Regions from separate parts of the Homo sapiens genome. Here regions 1, 2, 3, 4, 6 and 7 are each linked to region 5. The links are contacts of gene promoters, found by promoter capture Hi-C in blood cells and fetal thymus (Javierre and others, 2016). All regions are on one chromosome and are shown on one strand. Each heading gives the region's core, a stretch centred on a gene start or on the middle of the fragment in contact. The rest is flanking DNA. Distances are from core to core; before and after follow the strand shown. Region 1 has its middle 6.5 kb from the start of PTPRK. Region 2 overlaps HDDC2 (HD domain containing 2). Region 3 holds the start of TRE-CTC1-7 (tRNA-Glu (anticodon CTC) 1-7). Region 4 holds the start of NCOA7-AS1 (NCOA7 antisense RNA 1). Region 5 holds the start of RNF146 (ring finger protein 146). Region 6 overlaps NCOA7 (nuclear receptor coactivator 7). Region 7 overlaps HEY2 (hes related family bHLH transcription factor with YRPW motif 2).

Region 1 (3,077 bases), core at 393-2,892, 1.3 Mb after region 5:
ATGTGAGCAGCTTGAGAGCTCAGTATTGCCAATTTGGAAGAGCAATTTGCCTACAGCTGGATATAATTAACAAGCATGGGTCAAAAAGGAAGCCAATCATAAAAGTGTGAATTGGATTGAGGTGGAGGGATGGGACAGTAACAGTCACTTCCAGAGCTGGTAGGTTCCCACTGGTGAGCCGCTCCCCATTTTCAAAAAGCCTCGTCTAATGATGTTAATAGAAGAATAAACTCTGGGGGAAAAAATGCCTGGTCTTCACAGTAACCCAGTATGTGTTTGACAAATTATTTTTTCTGGGACAATAAATGGTGCCTTATTCTCCCTTTATGCTAGTGAGTATTTTCTATGCCCACCAAAATGTATTATGTTTTTCACGGCTCACTATAAAGAGGTATAAAGGTACCGGCTATACAGCCTCCCATTGAATCCTGTTTGAATTCTTTTGGTCTGAATGCATGAATTATCATGGGGATTTTTTTGTTGTTTGTTATTTTAGTAAAAACCAGGAAAGAGGATAACTTAAAACTAAATACATCATGCATTAAATAATAACTATATCTTGTGGGGTTAAGAGCTCGTATGCAAAGTTGCAGCCTGATGAGAATTAACACAGCTGAATAATAAATTCTCTAATGATTATGCTCCTTTCCTCCTCCCACCTACTTCTGAGGGGGGCTGGGGGACTGGCTTCACATATGGAACCCTGTGGATCTTGCCATCTTTCTTCTGTGCTTATTGTGGTCTTGAGACAGAAAGAAATAGAAGTCTGAACACAGGATGCGGTGCTTCCAAAGCTTTGGAGATTTTTCTAATCCTCCAAATGTTCTCCAATAAAATCCTCCCTTTATACTGCTGATGCCGCCACAGCATTCATAACCAGGGGAAGTCTGACAAGAAAATGAACCATTAAAACCTACACACAAACATAGGGGCTCATTTCCATGCTGAAGTCATCTTTAACCAAAGCCCAGAATTCATTTTGTCATTTGCAAGCATTTATTAAGGGCACAACACAGTGCTAGTTACTCTGTGGGGGATACAGGAGAATTAGTAGTTTACATCTGAGTTTAACAGGCAAAAAAATAAAACATAAAAAAATAAGAGACAACAAACCACTTGAGGGAAGAGGAAGATGAATAAATAAATATGTATATATATGTATGTATATATATGTATGTATATGTATGTATGTATATGCATGTGTGCAAATACATGTACCCTAAATGCGAAGGAGTATAAAGCGAAGTATTAAGTCATGGTGAAGCACAGCTGAAGGAAGAAACTTTGGGATATGGCTAGTTTTGAGCTAGATCTGAAAGAAAGTGATAGTTGTTGCAGGCAGAAAAAAAAAAAAAAGGCCTGAGGCGTAAACCACTTTGTGAAGCTTGAACTTCTTCCTTGAACACGCTTTCTGGGAAGTAGCTGGCTGTTAGTATCTGACCAAAGTGTGCCTCTCATTGACTGAACACTTGTCCATCCTGGGGATGAATTCTCATTTTTATTGATAAATTTTTTAAATCATCTAAGAAGCCTTGTTGGAAGATGCATAAAGTACACAACAGATTTCTCATAACATCAGTTTATAAGCATTTAAATCTTCGCAACTGTCTAAATAAGCCCAGAGAAGAGTTCATTAAGAAATAGCTGCACGAGCACAGTGGAGTATTAAAATCACATGCAATTTCTTTGGGGCCATAATGAAATAGTCAATTAACTTTTTTACTTGTTGACAACTACAGCTGATATAAACTAATGGTCCACTGATCTGAGCAGAAAGTCAAAGAACAACAAGTTAAAACAGTCTGAGAAAAGAATCAGAGGCTGAATTGATCAAACATAGTTTTATTTCAGTTTCCACATGATGTAAAATAGCCACTTAACTGTTTCAGATACATCCTAGAGAAGCTTGGTGAACAATGTGAATGTACATAATAAATAATATTAGCTAATATTTAAAAATACTTTACAGGGGTGGTAGGCAGAATAATAACAACATTCCCCACCTCCACTCTCAAAAAGATATGCATGATGTAATCCCTGGAAGCTGTGAATATGTCACCTCACAGGCCAAAGAAACTTTGCAGATGTTATCAAGTTAAGGATCTCGCAATGGCAATATTATCCTGGACTGTTTGCATGGGTTTAGTGTAATCCACAAGAGTCCTTACAAGAGGGAGGCAATAGAGCTGGAGTTAGAGAGAGAAGATGTAAGGATAGAAGAGAGGAAATGCTACACTGCTTATTTGAAAAATGGAGAAGGGGGCCATAAGCCAGGGAATACAAGTGTTTTCCAGAAGGTGGATAAGTCAAGAGAATGGATTCTCCCCTACAGCCTCCAGATGGAACACAGCCCTGCTGACTCCTTGACTGTAGTCTAGCAAAATCCATTTCTGACTTCTGACCTCCAGAACTGAAAGACAACAAATCTGTGTAGTTTTAAGCTACTAAATTTGCAGTAATTTGTCAAAATAGCAATCCAAAGCTAATATGCATGGATCACCTCATTTAATCCTTAAAATATTATAGCCACTTTACGGATGTGAAAACTGTTGCTCAAATAGGTTAAGCAGTTTGCTTAAGTAAATGGTGGAGCTAAACTACAGATCCAGGCACTCTGACTCCAGAGTGTGTACGCTTAAAAAATACACTGTTTTAAAAAACACTAATTTAGAATGGCAAGAATATATTGTATTACTCCATAAAGGTAAACTGTGATAGCAAATTTATAAAAAAGATATTGAATATATTTTCAATCTTCTCTGTATTCACAGTGAATACAATTCTTAACATTCCATTACAGTTCCTTTGCTATGAATGCCAGCAATCTTATATTAGTTTGATATTACATTACTTCATCAGAGGAAGACATAAACTAGGAGATAACCTTTGTCAATAGTTACCTGGATGATTAGTCATCATTTACATTTGGCATATTTCTTGTCATAACTCTCATTATGATGTCTTCTATAGATTGTAAGCTATTAGAAAGCTGAGACTGTATTTCCTCTATGTTCTACAAGGACCACAGCCTATGTCATCCCATGTACATGTTTGCATGTGTAGGTCATAATGAGTCT
Region 2 (3,374 bases), core at 62-2,561, 2.0 Mb before region 5:
TTTATTGCAAGATGTAAAGTACAATACAAATGAGCGATTATTGCCATTAACATAAACGAAGTTACATGATAGAATTTTGTAGGCTCACAGACTCACAGGCTGAAAAGGGATATTAAACGGCAATTAGCTAAACCATCCATGTAGTATCTGAACCCTTCAATAGCATCATGGAACAGTTCTATCCTCTTTCCAAAAATGTGTGCATTGGTAGGGAGCCTAGTACCTCAAGAGGCTGCCTTAGACAGTACTGGCAGAAATTATTTTCTTATATCAAGCTGAAAATTTTCCCTGTAGTTCTTCTACCACACCTAACCCATCCCTCCTGCTTTCCTCTCTAACCCACAAACACAACGTCAAACAGGTGGACAGTGACCCCGCTGGGCTGGACTATCTGTGGCCACAGTGACTGGTCTAAGAGATAATCTTATAATTCAAACCAGGCATTCAGGGGCCATCTGCATTTGTCAAGCAGAGGCTAGGAGAGAAGCCATATTCCCCACCACAAGGAGAAGCGTTGAGAGTTAGCCAAAACCTAATGAAAAGCAGAGACAAAATAAGAGTAGAGGGTGTCCTGTACTTCTAGGCTTTCTGTACTTTCTGGTCTCAAAGATCCCAGGAGCTACCCTTATCCTCCAGTCTTCTCCTTTATTTATGAGTTACTCCAGTATCCTTCCTTTATTTCTGAATTACTCCAGTACTCTCAAAAAGCTTCAAATTCCTTCACCACCTTCATCCCATACCTTTTAATCAGCCTCAGTTCTTCTAACCACAGAGGTTAGGCTCTTTGAACGGAATATGGCTATAAAAACCATTTTTGGCAATATAAAGGTCTTACATAAAATAAAATAGTGAGTTGCAGGAAAGCAGTGAAAATAAAATTGGACATTTGTGTGTATATTTATTTATTACTGGGAGAAAAAAAATGTTACAGAATACAACCACTTCCAGAGCAAACCACATTTGCCAATGTCAACAATCCACTCTTATAAATAACATCACCATCTTGAATGGCTTGTTCAGTTACAGAGTGGTAGCATCACACTACCCTTAGTAGGAAGGAATTTAGCTTATGTTGTACATGCATTCTCCCTTGTTTCTTTTTCATAAATTTCAGCAAGAATACTTGAGAAAATACTTTATATTTTCACAAATTAACTGTGTCTTTATAGATTCCTTTTCTCTACACTATTGCAGAAACACAAGTTTGCCAATTACTTCCAGTTGAAAAGAATGAACTAAATCATATGTACATACAGGTATATGAACATCTCAACTGTAGAATGCAAACATGAAAGTCCTGCTCTGACAGGAGACTATTTTATTCTCTTTAAAATGACACACCTAGAACTGAATACAGTGATATATGTATGATCTGACCAAGGTGGAAGAAAATGGAATCATCACCTTCCTCATGCTAGATACTATATTCCTTTAAGTGCAGTGTAAGACTGAATTGGCTTTTTGGTGATCACATCCAATTACTAAGTTATTAATAGGCTTCTTTTTGTTCAAAATCACCATATTCTTTAAAAAACAAAACAGCAAATACGTTGTTGCTCTCTTCCTGAAACTGAACTATGATTTTCTGAATCTAGGCTGATTGATATTTGTTAATCACACAATCAGAATAGCATTTTTGAAACCTTGTAGAGAGTTAATATTCTTTGTTTGGCAGCACATGCCAGAATCATGCCTTTTTAATTGAACCCTCTGAAATCAACATGGCTGAGGTCCAGGGTACACAGCTGAGTATGCCAGCCTTTCCCTTCCTGGCAAGCGATGAGCCCTGACACTTCCACTTCTATACTGAGTTTCACCTTGTTGTTCAGTCATAGATTTAGAGTGACAGCTTCCCTAGCCTCTTCCTCTGTTAGCAAAATATGTCAAAAATCTGCCTAAAGTGCCGAGCTGAATGAAGCTTTCAGCAAATATTTTGTGTCAGTTTTGTGACAAGTAACTGGAAGGTATTATTCATCATTCAGACACTGATGAGGCTGAAGAGTGTAGTAGTCAACTGAAGACCAGATCCAGACTGGGTTTCAAACCCGGCTCGCCATTTATTAATACTAGCTGTGGAACCCTGAGCAAGTCATTTGACCTCTTTGTCCTTCAGGTTTCTCATCTACACAGTGGGGTTAAATATTGGTACCTACCTAAAGGGATCATAGGGATTAAACAGTTAATACACATATAAAGTGCTTATTATTGGCACATAATAAGCACTTTATAAATCTGCCACATAATAAGCACTCTATAAATGTTTGCTGTGTTTTTCATTTTCTCCTTCTTGTCATACTTACTCTATGATAAAGTTCCATTCTCTTTGTAATCTCCAAGTTCTTTAGCAACTTTAACCCTCCCAGACACAGGCATACCACGACTCTGCCCTCTGTTTCAATAAGGTTTCCCCTTTGCAAAGGAATATGACCTGCCACCATTATATTCCAGCTTCAAGTTCCACCTCACTAGATCACAGTGATCCTTATCAGACATCATTTATCAACCTGCATTATCAACCTGCATAATATCAAGTGTATGTTAATATGTTTAGGAATGAGGCCAGACTACAAGTATTGCTTTTGGCTCCTTTCTAAATTTGTTTCTTCTATGCCCTCATTCTCCCTTTCATCTTAATACCTACTTTTCTCCAAAACAATCAGCCTTCCAGGTTTATCAAGTATAGTTGGTCCTCCATATCTGTGGGTTTTGCATTAACGGATTCAACCAACCATAGATAAAAAAAAAAATTAAAAAAAAAGATACAAATAAAAAACAATACAGTGTTATCAACTATTTACATAGCATTTGCATTATATTAGGTATCATAAGTAATACAGAGATGACAAAGTATATGGAAGGGTATGTGCAGGTGATATACAAATACGACACCATTTTATCTTCAGCATCTGCAGATTTGGTTATCTATGGGGGTCCTGGAACCAATACCCCATAGATACTGAGGGACCACTGTATTTTTTCTCCCTCCTACTTTAGTTTAGAGGCTCACTGATGTAGCCAGCAAGGGCAAATGAGGTTTCCTGGTTCTCATTAGGCAAATTCCACTCAGAGCCAAGAAACCCTCATTTAATTATCTTAATGCATGGTTCAGACATCCAAATCTTGTTCATAAACACCATCTGCATAAAGAATTGTTCACCTCCCTGATTTTCTTCTCTCTTCCCAAATCCTGACCAGCAGCAGGAAGAGGCAATAGAACATCAGTGCTCTCCAAGCCTTTGGTTTCTTGTCCAAGAACTTGTGGTTCTTTAAGATGTTTCCCCATTGCCTTCTGCTTATGACATTTATTCCCCTGTGAATCAGCAGGAGTGGGCAGCAGTCAGGAGGTTTAATGAGGCTGGAAAGGTTTTTCATCA
Region 3 (3,394 bases), core at 693-3,192, 1.5 Mb before region 5:
GACAGCTTCACTTGGGTGACCTCTCTTCAGTCCAAATCTAAATGCAACATGGCTTCCTCTATTGCCCACCCCCACCCCCGTCTCAAACAGCACCCTTTCTAAATTAATAGGCCATGATCAAAACCTTAATGATTTTCTCCTTTGATTCCTATTCAACTGTCATAGAAACAGTCTTGTTCACTTTTCTATACCTGTGCATGCAAAGATGACTGGCATGGAGTAAGAATTACATAAGTGTTTGCTAAATTGATGAATGAATGACAATAACTCTGTGAAGTATGCACGGATGCATGCAAGTTAGTGTCTCTCTTGTACTCCTTAGGATCCAGAGGCTCAGAGAGCTGGGTCACTTAACCCAGATAATGCAGCTGATATTGGCACAGTCAGGGTTAATTCACAGTCTCTGGCTCTGGAATAACAGATCTTATTTTCATAAGATCTCTTTTTCTTCGCTATATTCGCCCTTCTGCAGCGTGTAGGTCATAAATAAGGTTGTTGTCTCTCACATTAGTCCCTCAACACCTTGAATCATGTTTCTGGCAATGATCTCCTGGATAGACTTCCTTACTGTGGTATGGGCTCCACCAGTCTGTTCTGTACCCAACAGTCACTGTCTTACCATCTGACTGTGCTTAATCTCCTCCGTTTTCTCCTTGATCTCTTTACAGTATGCTCTTTTCTTCACCGCTACTTCCTTCTTGAAGCTCTCTTATCCTTTTATTACTACCTCTCTGACTACTCTTCCTTTTTTTTTTTTTTTTTTTTTTTTTTGAGACAGAGTCTCTCTGTCGCCCAGGCTGGAGGTCAGTGGTGCGATCTTCTTGGCTCACTGCAAGCTCCGCCTCCCACGTTCACGCCATTATCCTGCCTCAGCCTCCCAAGTAGCTGGGACTACAGGCGCCCACCACCACAAGGGCTATGTATTTTTTTTAGTAGAGACGGGGTTTCACCGTGTTAGCCAGGATGGTCTCGATCTCCTGACCTCATGATCCTCCCGTTTCGGCCTCCCAAAGTGCTGGGATTACAGGCGTGAGCCACCGCGCCCGGCCCCTCTCTGACTACTCTTTCACCATTTTCTACCTCTTCCCCTTCTTCTTTAATGTATACTCTCCTGGGTTTTTTCCTTGGTCCTCTCTCCTTTTTATAGGTTTTTTCTTTGGGAAGAGCTCAAATCTTCTCAAACTTTTAAGTTAATGGCTCCAAAATCTCTCCCTTCTACCCTAATTATCACCAAAATTCCCATTCTGTATTTCCAACCACATTTAGTTGTGCTGCCTCTGTGGGGCTCAAACTGAACTTACCTTCTCTTCTTCATCAGTTTCTCCATCTCAACCTTCCTATTACTTTTAATGCCACCCCAGTTTTACTAGCCACACAGAACAAATCAAGGATTCATAACTGATTCCTCCCTATTCTTAACCCTTTATATCCTATCAGACATCGAGTCCTCTTGGGTTCCCTTCGTAATTTCTTGACTTGTCTTAAGGTCTTCCATAATCTAGCTGCAGTCACCTATCTGCCCTCATCTCCACTGTTCCCCAGCGCAGGTTCCCTACTACAGCCAGTCTGACACAGTTAGTCCTTTTCGTTGCAAATACTAGACCATGGTCATCCTGGATCCCTTAGAAGCAATGTCCATTCTCCTTTTCTCAGGCATTCCGGATACTTCTAGCCTTTAGGTCCAGCTTGAAAAACAGTTTTCAAGCTCTATTTTGATTCTAGTGCTCACTTCCTTCTCCCTTCTTTTACCATATATCGTGATTATTTGAAGTACTTGATATGCAGCAAATAATCAATGAATGGTGCCAATTATTTTTGTTAATGGTGGCAACATATTTTTGTCTTAATTATCCAATGAAGTGAAAGCTTCTTAAGCACCAAAAATCACATCTTTTCTTAACCCCATGGCACCTATCACAATGGACTTCCTGGAACATTAAGTACTCAGCATTCTCCTCTTCCCAATCAGTCTCAGCACAGCTAAAAGGAGAGCAAAACAAACTCATTTTAGTTGCAATCAAGCTTTCAGTCTGTTTCTATGCTATGATGAAATTTCTCCTTAAAAAAAAAAGGCGGGGCCGGGCGCGGTGGCTCACGCCTGTAATCCCAGCACTTTGGGAGGCCAAGACAGGAGGATCACGAGGTCAGGAGATCGAGATCATCCTGGCTAACACGGTGAAGCCCCGTCTCTACAAAAAATACAAAAAAAAAATAGCCGGGCCTGGTGGCGGGCGCCTGTAGTCCCAGCTACTCGGGAGGCTGAGGCATGAGAATGGCATGAACCCGGGAGGCGGAGCTTGCAGTGAGCCAAGATCGCGCCACTGCACTCCAGCCTGGGCGACAGAGAGAGACTCCGTCTCAAATTAAAAAAAAAAAAAAAAAAATCCAACAGCTCAGTAAGTGGCAAAGGTTAGGATGGTTTAGAACTTTCAGGATCAAAAAAACCCTTAATGTCTATATAACACTATTTTTCTTTTTTTGACTCCAACATTGCCATATTTTCCTTTGAGGAACTCCCAGAATTCTACTTTACCCTGAATGTGGGAATTACTAATGATAAGTAGGTGCATTTTTGAGGGGCCTATATGGTTTATATAGTGGGAATTGATACTCTGGATGTAACACATTTACCATATTTGTGTAAATCTCTTAGAGAAAATTTAAAGTTAGCCAAAAAAACATTAACTAAATGGGTTATTAAAACACAATAAACTAGCTATGTCCAACCATACATCTCAGAAAAGATCTCATATTTATAGAGATGAGAGTAGGAATAGCTCCAATATAGGCAAATAATCTCCAAAGTACATAATCTTAATGTACAGAAAAACTAAAAATTAACTCTAAGCATGATACTGAATAAGTATTATTCCTCATAAAACTATCTTCCTCTTTTATTAGTCAAACAAAATCAAGGTTAAACAAAGGCTTAACTGACTGCTTGTAAACACATCCAAATTATTTTTAAAAACTGAAAAATACAATTTTAGAATCACAGAACTTTATGTTATTTGATTGATTATAAATTACATTACCTGTAAATAGAGATGGCGTATTTTAAGCCTTAGATTAAATAAACTTTTAAAACGGTCAATTTTTAATGATTAAAAAACCCCAACAAGCGAATGAAAAGTACATAAAACTTATGATTTAAAAAGAAAAAAAAAACTATAAAGAAAAAAAAAAACTATGAAAAAAAAACCCAACCAGCAAGTGAAAACTACACAAAACTCTTGACTTCTAAATTGCATGAAGGATACGAATGTCAAGAAAAACAAGACTTCCCTGACCGGGAATCGAACCCGGGCCGCGGCGGTGAGAGCGCCGAATCCTAACCACTAGACCACCAGGGAACTTGCACAACGCTTCTTCCTAAATATATTTGTTGTGTTAA
Region 4 (3,401 bases), core at 120-2,619, 1.4 Mb before region 5:
TGGTTTTAATTTGTATTTCCTTAATGGTTAGTGAAGTTTAACATTTTCATGTGCTTATTATTAGCCATAGTGTATCTTCTTTAGTGGCATCTCCTTTCCTATCTTTTGCCCATTTTCTAATTGAATTGTTTAGGTTTTTACTGTTGAATTGTACACATTCTAGTCTTTTGTTGGATATGTGATTTGCAAATATTTTCTCCCGGACTGTAGTTTGTCTTTTCATCCAGTTAACAGAGTTGCAGAGCAAAAGGTTTTAATTTTGATGTGGTTCAATTTATCAGTTTCTCCTTTTATGAATTGTGCTTTTGGTCTGAATTCTAAGATCTCTTTGCCTAGCTGTATGTTCTGAAGATTCTCTCCTGTTTTTCTTTTCTGAAAATTTTATAGCATTATGTTTTATATTTAAGTCTGTGATCCATTTTGAATTTATTTGTGGATAAGATATGAGTTTAGGTCAAAATGGTGGTCATGCTTCTCCTCCCCTTCCTCCCCGTCTCCCTTCCTCACCTCCTCCCTTTCTTCCTGCTCCTCTTCCTGCTCCTCTTCCTCCTCTTCTTCCTCCTCCCCCTTCCCGCTTCTCCCCCTTCCTTCTTTCTCCCACCTCCTCCTTCCTCCTCCTCCTTACTTTCTTCTTCTTTCTTTTCTTTCTTCTTCACTTGCCCTACATAGTGATTTTAAGAGCTATAGTGCCTTCTCAGCCTGAATCCAAAGTGATTCCTGTAGTAAAGGTAACTGCCGGTTCATGAACAACCTGCTCAATGTTAACCTCTTCTTGTTCCTAAAATGTAGAGTCAGGGGAGCCCCTGAAACTGAGAATACAAACCAAAACTGTTCTGGAAGAGCAGCACAGTTTTTTCAACTCAGAAATGTAAAATTGTCTTGCTTATCATGACCTCTTCTGAAAAGTATTCTAAAAATGAAACAAAAAACGTATCCTAAAATGCTGAAATGTGATCTTGGGAGCATAGGGACAGTGGCACAAGGATGAAATCAGTGATGCTCTTAAGACAGTAAGACAACATGATTTGTAACTAGGAAATGAGAGAGATGGAGAGAGGAGAATGGAGAGAAGAGGGGGTAGGAGCAGGGAGAGAGAGAAAGAGACAGAGAGAGAAACACTGACTGACAAACCTGTAGTTTAGCTCTTACAATGCAGTGGAAGCCAGAAATGGTCAAGCTATTAAAAGCAAAAGGCAAACCAAAGAGAAAAGAACCCCCTTCAGCCTATAATCAGAAAAGAGCCATCCAAAGTTATACATCTTTTCAAATGCCTTCTGACTTAACTGTGGAATTACCATGTGGAACTAGCAACAGAACTTACTTGAAAGCTGGTTTCTGACAATGTAGAGCAGAGTTCTCTGGAGCAGCGTACTTAAGGGCAGTCCAAGCAAGATCTCTGGAGAGAAGGATAAAATGTCAGGCCAAGGGTGAGGCCAAACTGATGCAATCTCAGTTTTCTCTAAACTAAATTATACCACCTTACATAAATCTCAACTGGTGTTCTGAGGAAGTCAAAAGGAAGATTTACCCTGATGCTGTGCCTGCTGCCACAATTACATATCTGAAACCCTAAAAACTGCTTTTTAGCCTGCTTCCCCCTTCCACCTAGGAAAAACTAGGAACACCTAGTTTTTCCTCCTGAGTAGTTAAATAGCCAATGTTTTCTTTGTGTGCTATCTTATCATGTGGTTTCATAATCGTTGTGTGACTGTGTTTGATAAATAGTCCTTTGCCAAACCTGTTTTGTTGACGTTTCGCTCTTTAACATCAAAATAGAGTTTAAAATACCCTATTTTAATAATTTTGGATTGAAATTAGTGATTTGAGGGTCACCCAGTCTTTCCTTTCTTATAATTTATCTTGAAATATGCCTGTGTAACTCTAAATAGAGGGGTGGATTAATACTGCTACTAGATAGAGTAATTCTGGATAAGACCTGATGAATTTTTTGGATTTTCTGACCCTGGTCCAACTGGTTTTCAGGTGCTTCAGGATAGTTTTATAACAGTTGTTAAATCTAGATTGAATGATTTGTGAAACTTTTTCACAAATGGTTTTGCAAATAATTTATATATGCAAAATTAGTATATGTCTATATTAATTTCTTGATCCCTGACAGGTCTTGAAAACCAAATGAAAAACTGAATTACTAAAGCAAATTATACTTTCTGTACTATTTGTACTGTGTACAATTTATGCTATCCTCTGGGGTGACTATCATGTGTCATTTGTTACACCCCTGCTGACTCTTCCTTCCCCTTGTAGTTAGAATGCAAAATTTTCTTTAGTATTGCCATACAGGGCTGTCTTCTTACACACTTGCTTGACATTATTTGGCTTTTGTGATTTCCGAGTAGGTCCTTGTATGCCATTGGTTGAAGATTCTTTGAAAGCATTTTTTCAGGATCAAGCGTTGATTGAAGATATCCAAAATACATCTGTAGTTGAACCAAATGGTGTTTTGTGGGAGGTTTACTTTTCCCCTCTGATAAGGTGTGAGAGCCTGGGAGTAAACAGTGAGTAATATAGACGAAGACACAGACTGGGTGTTCATGTAGGTCCCTTGTTGGCTCCCACCTCCCCTATTCCCTGGTTGTCATGAAAAGCAGAACTGCTGCTCCCACCTCCGCTTTCCTCTTAACCCAGCCTTTCAGAGCAGCAGTAGGAGCCAGCACCACCTCTGTCATCATTCTCAGTGACAAAGGATGCAAAGTGTAGAACATTTCTTAGCTCCCATCTCCAGCCTCTGCCCTGGCAATTCTTCACCCTTGAACCTCTGACCCACAAGCAGAACACCTAGTGTTTGCAGTTCACTCCAGTGTATAACCTCTGGCAAGTCTTCTAAGCTTCCTTTACCTTACATTTCTTCAGTTGTTAAATGTTGCTAAAAATAACCAACTAACAAGATGCTTTTGAAGAAGGAGACATCCCAACCAGCCAGAACTGGAGAGAAGCTCAAATGGGACCCAGCAAGGAGGGCCAGAGCTGAACAGCTGGTCCCCTTATTCTCTTTTCCATGGCAGAGGAGATTTGAACCCACTGTATAGCTTTCTCTGTTGTGTGAATAGTACACTTTGTAGCTTTCGTGTTCAAGTAAAATGAAACCAAGATGGCTATGAAGATTGAGGGTAATATACGAACAGTACCTGATACAGTGAGTACTCACACATTCCTTTAATAACAAATCATTCCTGATCTTACTTCTGTGTCTACCTACATCTTCACCTAATTTTCATCTTGACCTCCCACTTTCAGCCCATGAGCTGCTCCTGTTGTTCAGATCAGGGAAGAAGGAACACTTAACGACAATCCAAATTGGAACCATATCATTTCCCAAAGATACTTTGCTATAAGCACAGTTAGTTAGGTTCTGGGATATAATGAAGTGGAGTTATATAGTC
Region 5 (3,394 bases), core at 268-2,767:
GGATATACTTTGAAGGAAGAGCCAACAGGTTATATGCCAAATGCATATAAGACATAAAAGAGAGGAGTTAAAGGTGGGTTTGAACAAGGAAAGATGCAACCATTTACTGAAATACAAAGACCTTGGGTATGAGTGAGAAGGGGTTGAACTAGCTGACATCTTACAGTCTGTGCCTGGATTCAAATCTCAGCTGTGTGTGTCTCTCTCTCTGTAAAATGGGAATAATAATAGTGCCTACCTCATAGTTTATTATGAGAATTAAGTGGGTATATATGAATAAAGCACTTAGAGCAACACCTGGCACATTGTTAGTTAATATTAGCATTACCTCTTCAAGCTGGAATCTTCGAGTACATATCAAATTTTAGCTATTCTCTGTTCATGGGCTGTGTAGGATAGAGGGACAAAACTGAGTGGCTAATAAGAAGATAAAGATAGAAAACTAAGCTTAAAGTTAAAGGATATACACTTCAATATTTCTACATGTATGGAACAGTATTGCATACACGCGCAAGCATCACTGAACTAGATGCACCCTTCAAGAGATTGGGTTACATATTGATATATATGAATGAGAACCCTGAAATAAACTGATTTCAGAGGAATAACAGAAAACATATACATTTCTATACCTATAAGGACACTGAAAACTTCCAATCCTGAATCAAACAGTTAATGAAATCCCAAAATGCAACACTAATGCAAATGAGAAGACGCTGTCATAGAATGTTGAAATACATACTCTTCTAAAGATAAAAGGTCTGCTCTTCCACCCTCTTCATTTTCCTACAAATTAGGAAAATTTAATCAGTTCTGAAAAAGGAAATGTACATGCTAAAATGGTGAATTACTGCTAGAGTTCTGATGTTTAAAACCACAGGCTTGCGATCAAAATAACCTCTTTAATTTTAGATTATCATGCAGATTAATTTCTTCAGTTTCTCAGGCACTATTCTGTTTTTTTTAAAAAAAGGGTGGGGTTTCAAAAGAAAACTAATACTCATTTTTTCCCCGATTAAATTGCTCAACCATTAAAAAGGAGAACAAATTGGAAAGTCCTACAGTACTCTCTCCCCTCCGTCCCCCCCCTCCCCATTTTTTTTCTTGAAAGGGAACAAGCAGTACTTTTGCTAAGGGATCTTTAAGCCGAAACTCAGCTAGGCGCCCCAGAGCTTCCTCAGGATAGCAAAGCTGGATTTTTGAGCAGCACCACCTGCTGGTCCTACACACGTTTTACTTCCTCCACCCCAAATCTCTTTCTGTTGGAACTGCACTCTTTCAGAGCCTCTGGGCCCTAATACAAAGCAAGCACACTCTAAAGAAGCCAGAAGAATGCAAGCAGCGAAGTCGCCGCTCCCCACAGGCAAGAGAGTACCGGCAGACAGCGGCGCGAGACAGGGGCAGAACGATGAGGCGCCGGAGTTAGCTCGCCGGTGCGGGTGCGGGTGCGCGGCGCGTCGCGGCCCCTCCTCCGCGACGCGCCGGGTGGTCACGTGACGGCCGCGCGCGTTCCCGGCAGCTGCGGGCTCCGAGGCCAGAGAGAAAAGACTGCGAGGTGGCCGCAGCTGTGGCCGGAGAGGTGGGAGTCGGAGCGAGGCCCTCTCGGGGGAGCAGGGTGAACGCCGGCCACTCTAGGATCCTCACTCGGGGAGAGGAGGCATAGCTCGCGGTGTCACCTCCAGCCGCAACGTACTCCGGGTCGGCCTTGCGCTCGGGGCCTGAGAGGGGCGGCGGCGGGGTCAGGGGCCGGTACGTAGATGGACGCCCTTGGGCTGGCGCGGCCCCGGCTGTCCGCGCAGAGGCGGGATGGGACAGTTCAGCCCTTTCCGCCACCCCCGCCTTGGCTGCTGGGGCAGGCAAGACGACCGTGACAGCCCCTGCGCTGCCCGAGGGCGCCGCAGCCCCTGCCCTGGGTGACGGCCGGAGCTGGTCTCGGTCCGGGTGCGAGGGGCGGAGCAGCGGCCATTACTGCGCAGCCTCTTCCGCCTGAGCCCGCTTCGCTGCCTCGGGTGGCAGGCGGGTCCCTCTCCTCCCCTCTGGGCCGTGGTTTTAGGCCTTTACCCGGGGACCTTCTGGCCTCGAGGTGTAGGGGCGGCGATGGTTTTTCGGCGGTAGCCTGCTCCATGTTTTCCCGTGTGGGGTCAGACAGTTTGGGCCTTGGGTCAGATCGAAGCCAGGGCGTACAGTCTGCATTTTTGCCTTTTCCCGGAGTGTCTCTGGCTGCTGCTTTCTCTTCTCTCGCTCTTCCTCCTTTTTTTTCTCCTGCTCAGTGTCTCGGTCTTGCCTAAAACGAAGAGAGCAATCCCTGCACCTTGTCCTAGTGAAGCCCAGCGCTGCATATTCTTAGTTGTTTTTGACGGCTGTTGAAGCATCGGAACAATTAAGAGATCTCAGAATATCCCTTGAGCCTCCAAACCCTCTGCATCTTAAAAGCTGAGGCTGTTGCTTTGTTCTGATTGTTGGGTGGGGAGTTCTCTTCCTACCCTCCATCCCGTCTGAAGGAGTGTGGGTCTTCCATTGTTGTCGCTATTTATTTTGCTAAGGCTTCTAAAGAATGTAAAATTGTTTTAAGAGTGGAGACGGAACCGTCCTCTCCACAGGTAAAACCTACAGGACTGTAAGTTTACACACACATCCTGGCAACTAGAATCTTTTCTCGTTAATCATATTGGTATATGTTTTAATTTATTTTCTCTAAGTGCCATTTTAGTGAGCACTTATTTCTCAAGTTTTGAACATTTTGTTTAATATTTTTGTAATATCGAAACAGTGTAGAACTGAGGAGAGAAGAAAGCCCAAAGATGATAGGGTACGCTTTGTTCTTTGTATGATTGGCATTTCAGGTAGTGGGCACATCCCCCCCACCTCGTGTGTGTACTTTTCAAATGGGATGTGAACGTATAATATTGGCATTCAATCCAGTATATAATTATAGAATTTGGAAGACTTAGGACATTTTAGTCAGTGAATCTATATTTAGACTTTTCAAAGACATGGCACGTAAGGACACGTGGAGAAAATGTCCCACACAGATAACAGGATTTGTGATTTTGGCTTTGCTGTTTTATGATTAGCAAATATTGTTTGTATAGAGTGTCTGGGTGCCCTAAAAACACATGAAAATAGGTCAACTAAATCTCGTTTTAAAGAGAAAACCGGAAGAGTGAACACCACTCTAAAAATAGATTTTGGATGTGTTTGTTTTGGTGCCTTGTATATCTTAAAGTGGAGGATGTTGTTCAGCCCAATCTTTCATTTAGAATTTATGTCTCAAATGAGCCAGTGTATCATGTGGGCAGACTGGAAATACATTTAAATATTTTTTTTCTTCGCTGGTTGTTCAGAACTTGGTAGAATTATAATTATCAGGAAAACTCTCTCCAAATAGCTGGTC
Region 6 (3,405 bases), core at 725-3,224, 1.4 Mb before region 5:
AGTAAGATGTGATTGCAGTCTCATTTTAGTGTCTCTGCAGCCTGATAATTTAAAAGGATGTATATTTCCCAGATAAAAGTTCTTTTCTTTTCTCAGGCTAAAAGAGGTAGAACACTTATTCCAGAATCTTTAAAATTTCCTGAGTTCCCCAATAATGCAGCCTTGATAGGCACACAATCTAATCTTAAGATACAACAGCTATCCATGTTATTTTCATGTGATAAAGACTGCTAAGTTTCCAAGTATCATCCAAACCCAGCTCAGCCAATCCACATTTTTGTGTTGTTGGCATGGAGCAACCTTACTTACGCAAATTCCTGTAATAGTCAGGAAGCTCTTTCCCCTTTCTAGGTCAAGTAACAGAAAACAGATCAGACTACCTTAGGAGAAAAAAAAAAAGGAATATGGAGTTTCTGGTTCACATAAGTAAAAAGTCCCAGATAAGATTTGACATCAGGAATGCCTGGATTTGGGACTCAAATAATGTCATTATGACTCAGTTTGTCTGTATCTAAATCCTTCCTTTCTTTTAGCTTCCTTTTTCAGGCTTTACTTGATAAATGCTGCTAAGTCAGAATCTCTATTATGCAACAGCAGGCAAAGCAAATGCTTGCTATTAGGTCTCACAAGTCCTGAGACTCACAGGGATTGGACCAACTTAGAGCCGGTGCTAGGTTTTGGAGTAGTGGCTGCCACTGGCAGAGGCAGAGACTCAGTGCTTTGATTGGACAGGCCCACATAAAGATGTCCTTCCTGGAGCTAGGATGAGTCCTACCCAGATCTGGTATTACAGAATAAGGAATAGATTGTAGGGAGGCCATTGAAATCTACTGCAGTTTTCTGTAGTATGTCAGGCACTGTACTAGGCACTGGATTTAAAGCTTTTAAAAAGGAGAATGACATGCTTTGAGTCTCAGTGAGTTTTTAGACACTGTACATGTCACTGTAAATATCATAGTTAATTCCATCATTGAATGGATGATTTGACAAGATAACCTTTAAAGAACTTTCCTACTTGAGATTCTATGATTTACGCTTCTTGGAAACAAAATGGAAAAGGTACAAATTCTTTCATTAGTTTAGGTAATTATATTTTCATCTTAAACTGTTTTAGAATTTTTAATATTGTGACAGCTTTATGTAGAATTCAGAAAACTCAATTTAGTGTTTAATACCACAACTCCACTAAAACAGTATCTGAATATAGAAAAATTAATTTATGAATAAAGAGCACTTTAAAAAATGTATAGTTGTCATGCCAGGGACATAATGGTTGGTAAATATGAATTTTCATTTTTGCTGATGCCATTGTGAAGTTGTAATGTATACATGCGTTAAAATATTGAGCCCCTCTTTTTAAGGGACCCTTTGATGTAGATGATTAAAGATTGAAGATTCTTTGGTCTAATCCATACAAACAGCAATGAAATTTTCCCTGATTTGGCTTTTGTTTGAACTGTAGCTGATATACTCCCTGCAGAGTCTCAGTAATAGTTAAAAACATATTTATTTTCCCCCATCTGATAAAATATTGTTATCATTCCATTTTGGTTTTCTTCAAAACCGCCTTTAACTCAGCCAAAATAAAGTCCAGCTGAGTTTTCTTATGGCTTAATGCAGGAGTATGGAAATCCACAGGAAATTTGGATGACTATTATTCCAACATTACAAATGTTCAAGAGAGTTTTAGAAACTGTATTGAAATTAAAAGGAATGCCTGGGAGCAGAACATTTAAAACCACATAAACAAGTACACATCTATGAGAAATTACCTTGCCTTTTATCAACAACTACTAAAAAATAAAAAAGAACACGTAGTAAAATCAAAGCAAAACTTTCTTGGTAAAGTCTGCTACTGGAGAGGGTGCTTGATAACTTAGTTAATTTCATATTAGGAAGTTGGTTGCACCTGTGTGTGCCAGGTGACATATTAAGTATGAAGAAACATTTATGATAGGAAATTCCAGCTCTCCATTTGGGGCAAAGTGTTCAAGCAGTGGGGAATTGTTAGGTCTTGGGGTAGTTATCTCCTCACAAAATACCTTACATTATTCTTTAAATTAGATAAATGTTGAGTGAAGTTTGATTTCTCTCATTGTATGTGTGTAAAGCGACTTTGCTTGAGAAATTAGCCTAAAAGTCTATGTAACATGGTCTGATTCAAGGTTTATATCAATTTATGAAATTTGACATAGATAACTTATAATTAGCCTGCTTCATCTTTCCCGGATTGAAGTTTGTTTCTCATTCATTCATTCATTCATTCATACATGCTCCACCTTTAAGGCATCTTCAGAAAAGTACACGTGTGTCACCTGTGTATAACCAGCCATGCCTTGGTCCAGTCCCAGGATTAAGTCACATTCAAAGAAATAAGTATATCAGAGAAAATAATTGAAAATAAATATTTACTTCACCTTTCAGAAAACATCCAAGGGGGTAATAAATGCCATATATTTGATAAAACTTTAAAATCCTCTTTCTCCATCTCTCTGACCTTTTACATGTCTCTCAGCTACTTCCCCAAACTCTTTCTCCTTTTTGAAACCCTTCCCATATCCAGTCAGTGTATCTCCTCATGTCCTTACCTTTTCCCCTTCTTTCCTTTTAGGTTTATTTTCTTCTATTTCTTCTCTCACTATATTTCTTTTTCCACTTCTCCCCCTAATTCATTTCCCACACCTGTGTTCATAAGCTCAGAACCAGGAAAAGGAAACAAACCCAGAGTTCCCTTAGGAGGCAGCATGAGGAAGGAGGCTGAGATCATCCATATGCTATTATATTTTCTCATCATTGCACTTATTAAAGAAATTACGATATACTATTTAAAAATGGAAAGTCCAGACCAGGGAACATATAAATTGGCATGAAAAATGGGACAGTAAATTGCATGCTGCTCTTAGTTGTATGACTGATGCAGAACTACTTCATGGTCGGTGTTAAAAAGGGACTCCTTCCCATATTTCTTCCTCTTAATGAGTAGAGCACACGCCAGTCCCTTTGATAACAAAGCCCTTCCTAGTCCTTAACTCTCTAGGGGCTAAGGAAAAACTTCCCCTTCACCCTCTGAAGCTTCACTGAAAAATGAACTCATAAAAGGCAGATTAATAAGAGAGAAGCATACAATTTTTTTTTAACATTCATGAGGAGAACCCAAGTGTTTGGGAGACCATGAAGTGTTTACCCAAGCCTACAATGGGGTGCAGAAGCTTCTATACCATCTTGAGGTCACGGAAAGAATGGGGCTCAGGGCATGGCCAAAAATCAAGATTACAGTGGCAAGATAGATTATGGGGAAGGAAAGAAGAGGAGGAGGCCTGGCTTGTGAAGGTAGTCTTGTTATACAGATGAAACCTGATAGGTGGCAGCCATCAGAGAGGATAGGTGGTAAATGCTTCTTTCAGA
Region 7 (3,373 bases), core at 311-2,810, 1.5 Mb before region 5:
GCAAAGATATTTACACGAAAGCAAAGGTTTAAGTATCTGATCATTAAAGTGTTGTTGTGCCGTCTTTAAAAATGAGGTCTGAAAAACAGAAGCTATCACGTGAAAGGTGAAACCCGTAAAGAAGGGGTGAAAATGAGGGGGACAGGTAATTCAGAAATAAGATCCAGAAGTGAGAAGGTGAGGTAATAGCAACCTGGTGTGTGCAGCATTTCTAAAATGAAAGAGAACAAATAACAGGAACCTGGGGAATTTGAGAACACAAAGAAGCATAGTATCCATGAATTATGAAGAGAAACAGATACAAACTAGAAAGGATTGTAAAAATTATGTGACCAAATAATACTTTGATTGAACCTTCAATATAAAAATATATTTTCATTAGTAAATCCAAGGTGCATTGCAGCTTCTGGAGATTTAAGCTTAGCCTAAAGTCTGAGACACACCTACAGTTTCATTTTCAAAGTAAAACATTCACCTAGTAATAAAATGAGTTTTAATTTTCCTATCAGTGGCATATTTAGGGCATATTTTTGGAAGATTAGTATGCAAAACATCAAGTTTGTCAATTTTTTCCTGTTGCAATATATGACTAACTGAAGTTTTGAAACAGTAAGATAACTTCTATTTATTTTAAAGTTTGCACCTAGAGACAAGAGTTTGACGTATGACGACTGCACATCTGTTTGATAGTGGTGCTTAACATAACCCTGATTTGAAAAAGTGGCATTATTTTGTTCAGTGTGCCTGACAGGAGGGAGAAGGAAAGCTATTTGAGATTAGTTGACTTTAAAATATATGAGTGGAACTAGGAAATGCTAATATCTAACTTCTCAGCCCAACTGCCGGTAATTATTTCACTGGGAGACTTTCAAGTAAAAATTGTGGGACATTTTGGCCAATGGGTTAGCATCTGGATTACAAATTAAGGCGTAATTTTTACCTGAAAAGAGACAGCCGGGCTGAAAGCAAAGTCCGTTAAGAGTGAAACAAGAACTAAGAATAAAATAACACAGACTTGAACTGTGCAATCACTCTGAATATTTAATGGGTGCCACAAGTACCCAGAAGAAACTATTGTTATGTTAATGCAGCACCTGACATACTCTTCTTATTTCATAGGCAAAGTACTAGCTCTGTGATTAGATTGAATTCTCCAACAACAACATCTCAGATTATGGCAAGAAAGAAAAGGAGAGGGGTATGTGATTTTTCCCCCTTTTTATTTCATGTAACTTATACTATTGTGTAACAGTTACATTTTTTCATTTGAGTAATTTTATCATTTGTGAATTCATAAACTTTTGTTGTTTGCTTCTTTTGGATAGATTATAGAGAAAAGGCGTCGGGATCGGATAAATAACAGTTTATCTGAGTTGAGAAGACTTGTGCCAACTGCTTTTGAAAAACAAGTAAGCTATCCCCTCCCCAGAATCCCCCCACCCACCCCGCCACCCCCCAAAAAAAAGCTCAAACACAATCTGATTCGCTCATCTGGGAATGTGGGTTCTTGTTAAAGCTCATTAAAATAATAGTGTATGTGCCCTGATCTGGCACAGAGCAGCTATTTCAATAAAATGCTTTGTTGTGGCAAAACTATTAAAAACATAATCCATCATGAAGTTGAAAAACATTTCCATTCTTTAGCTTATTTTCCCCTTAAGGGTAACAGTGTTCATGCTTTCTCTGTTCTTTCTATGAATACCAGTAGTGGTTTTATTTAAAACTGTGCTGTATACCGTATCCTTCAAAAAAAAAAAAAAAACCATTTTTTTCTCAAAATTTTTTTAAAATGTAATATTTTTAATTAAAAAACAATCAGAGCCCAAGAAGTAACATCTCTAGCTCTATTTCCTAAATGATAATACCACTAAAATTTATTTACCAAGCCATTTGCTTTCATTTTTAATCCCTGGGTTGGTAGAATGCCATTTGATTTGGGTCATCTTTTTAGAAGTTTGGTAAAAATGAAGTTAATCATAAATGCCCCTTTTCATAGTTACCTATTCCTTTACAAAAAAAGAAAGAAAGAAAAAGATTTTGCACACTTAGAAAAGTAGAAAGCCAAATGTTTAAATCTTTTGTGGTTTTAGAAGTCATGGCTCTCCCCCTGCCGCAGTGGTTAATGACACAGATTTCTAAGAGTATCTTTCAAAGGATATGGCAGCATGTCCTTGTTGAAAATACTTTCAGTTTAATTCCAATAAGACAACAGTTGTTTGTTTATTCCATTTTGTTTGTTTACTTCATGAATCTGCAAACATTATAAAACAAGCCCTACAAAGTCCTTGGAAATTATCCAGAAAGTGCAGTTTCAATTATTAGTGACTTTACTGAATCTGCTTGTACCATTTTCATGGAAAAATTAAACGCTGACCAAATACAAAACATAATATGCTACTGATTATACATTTTTAAGACAAAAAGCACACCCAATCTATATGCAGAGACTGTGTTTGATAAACTAAAAATAATGTGGAAATTGTAGTTTTGATTAGTAGCATTTTCAGTGCCAAATAGGCTTCAAGTGAAAATGTCAGTAATCAATGATGTTTTTAAAATTTGGAAGTACTGAAATGTCTGCAGTTATGAGGCGAAGTCTGTTTGATTTTTTTTCTTGGTTTGTTAGATTTTTTTTTTCTTAAATGTTGACTTAAACCTTAAAAGCAAACATCAGTTGTTTGGCAGTTAGTTACCATAAACACAAGCTTTCCCATTTGCAGAGCTTGGCTACCAACCCAAGTGAGTTGGCCCTGTCACAATATGATTAGAAAAGTGTTCTTTAGAGCAGTTAAGTAACTCTGGCACTCTCACCGTACGTGGTGCTGATAATTTTTACAAAACAAGTAAAGCATAGGGACCTGAAATAAACCTTAGTGTCCTTAAAAAAGAAAAAAAAAGAGAACATATTGGTAATTATTTAGCTCTTCCAGGAAATGAGAAGCCACCCACAGTCCCCGAGACAGCTTGAAATGGCACATTTGTATTTCAATTGGTTACCAGAGGTTTCCTTATTCTGAAAGCAGGGACATAAAAATATATTTGCAAGACAATTTTATTAAGAACTATTTTAAAAGGTTCAAAAATCCTTAAGCATTTATGATGCTTCCTAGGTAAGCAGTAAATTATTGCTTCTTGTTTGTGAGCTTAGAAATTCACAGTGACACCTGCTGGTAATTATTGGGGAAAAAAACCTTAAAAGTCGTCCTTTTTAAAATTTTTGGATCTGCTTGAAATGCAGATCCAATTATATGGTTCTAGTGTGAATACCTTATTTCAGGACTTAGTAGGCCTGTGAAAGGACTTATTGGAGTTTTCTATTTTAAAAATATTTAACAATCAATTGCTAAAATCCTATCTCCTTATCTTCTGGAGT

What was found. Contacts are between HindIII fragments. The CHiCAGO score rates a contact against its expected background, and 5 or more counts as called.
Region 1: a fragment that was not itself captured here is called in contact with the fragment with the promoter of RNF146 in region 5 in 1 of 17 cell types (fetal thymus); the score reaches 5.3 in fetal thymus.
Region 2: a contact is called between a fragment that was not itself captured here and the fragment with the promoter of RNF146 in region 5, in 1 of 17 cell types (non-activated CD4 T cells). The highest score is 6.2, in non-activated CD4 T cells.
Region 3: a contact is called between a fragment that was not itself captured here and the fragment with the promoter of RNF146 in region 5, in 7 of 17 cell types (total B cells, total CD4 T cells, total CD8 T cells and 4 more). The highest score is 10.4, in total B cells.
Region 4: the fragment with the promoter of NCOA7-AS1 here is called in contact with the fragment with the promoter of RNF146 in region 5 in 3 of 17 cell types (M2 macrophages, monocytes and naive B cells); the score reaches 7.0 in M2 macrophages.
Region 6: a contact is called between a fragment that was not itself captured here and the fragment with the promoter of RNF146 in region 5, in 1 of 17 cell types (monocytes). The highest score is 5.4, in monocytes.
Region 7: a fragment that was not itself captured here is called in contact with the fragment with the promoter of RNF146 in region 5 in 3 of 17 cell types (total B cells, non-activated CD4 T cells and total CD8 T cells); the score reaches 7.7 in total B cells.

What each region holds. Positions count from the first base shown.
Region 1 is chr6:128,525,512-128,528,588 of GRCh38, forward strand. No RefSeq gene overlaps it. Among named protein-coding and RNA genes, the nearest start is that of PTPRK, 6.5 kb to the left of the region's middle. The HindIII fragment of the contact is 521 bases long and covers 1,383-1,903 here.
Region 2 is chr6:125,293,378-125,296,751 of GRCh38, forward strand. The region is part of intron 3 of HDDC2 (HD domain containing 2); the gene reads right to left. Among named protein-coding and RNA genes, the nearest start is that of HDDC2, 6.9 kb to the right of the region's middle. The HindIII fragment of the contact is 1,210 bases long and covers 707-1,916 here.
Region 3 is chr6:125,776,966-125,780,359 of GRCh38, forward strand. TRE-CTC1-7 (tRNA-Glu (anticodon CTC) 1-7) reads right to left here and starts at 3,353; the gene lies at 3,282-3,353. RefSeq lists a silencer at 3,204-3,394. The HindIII fragment of the contact is 156 bases long and covers 1,865-2,020 here.
Region 4 is chr6:125,817,489-125,820,889 of GRCh38, forward strand. NCOA7-AS1 (NCOA7 antisense RNA 1) reads right to left here and starts at 1,370. Exons shown (of 3, transcript NR_126386.1): 1 at 1,322-1,370. The region is part of intron 2 of NCOA7 (nuclear receptor coactivator 7); the gene reads left to right. RefSeq lists an enhancer at 595-1,096. The HindIII fragment of the contact is 4,548 bases long and covers 1-2,844 here.
Region 5 is chr6:127,265,347-127,268,740 of GRCh38, forward strand. RNF146 (ring finger protein 146) reads left to right here and starts at 1,518. Exons shown (of 3, transcript NM_001242850.2): 1 at 1,518-1,579. RefSeq lists silencers at 1,477-1,576, 1,677-1,946 and an enhancer at 2,147-2,206. The HindIII fragment of the contact is 5,432 bases long and covers 446-3,394 here.
Region 6 is chr6:125,834,999-125,838,403 of GRCh38, forward strand. All of the region lies in intron 2 of NCOA7 (nuclear receptor coactivator 7), which reads left to right. Among named protein-coding and RNA genes, the nearest start is that of NCOA7-AS1, 18 kb to the left of the region's middle. The HindIII fragment of the contact is 2,191 bases long and covers 880-3,070 here.
Region 7 is chr6:125,750,682-125,754,054 of GRCh38, forward strand. It overlaps HEY2 (hes related family bHLH transcription factor with YRPW motif 2), which reads left to right. Exons shown (of 5, transcript NM_012259.3): 2 at 1,120-1,198; 3 at 1,326-1,409. Among named protein-coding and RNA genes, the nearest start is that of HEY2, 2.7 kb to the left of the region's middle. The HindIII fragment of the contact is 2,286 bases long and covers 418-2,703 here.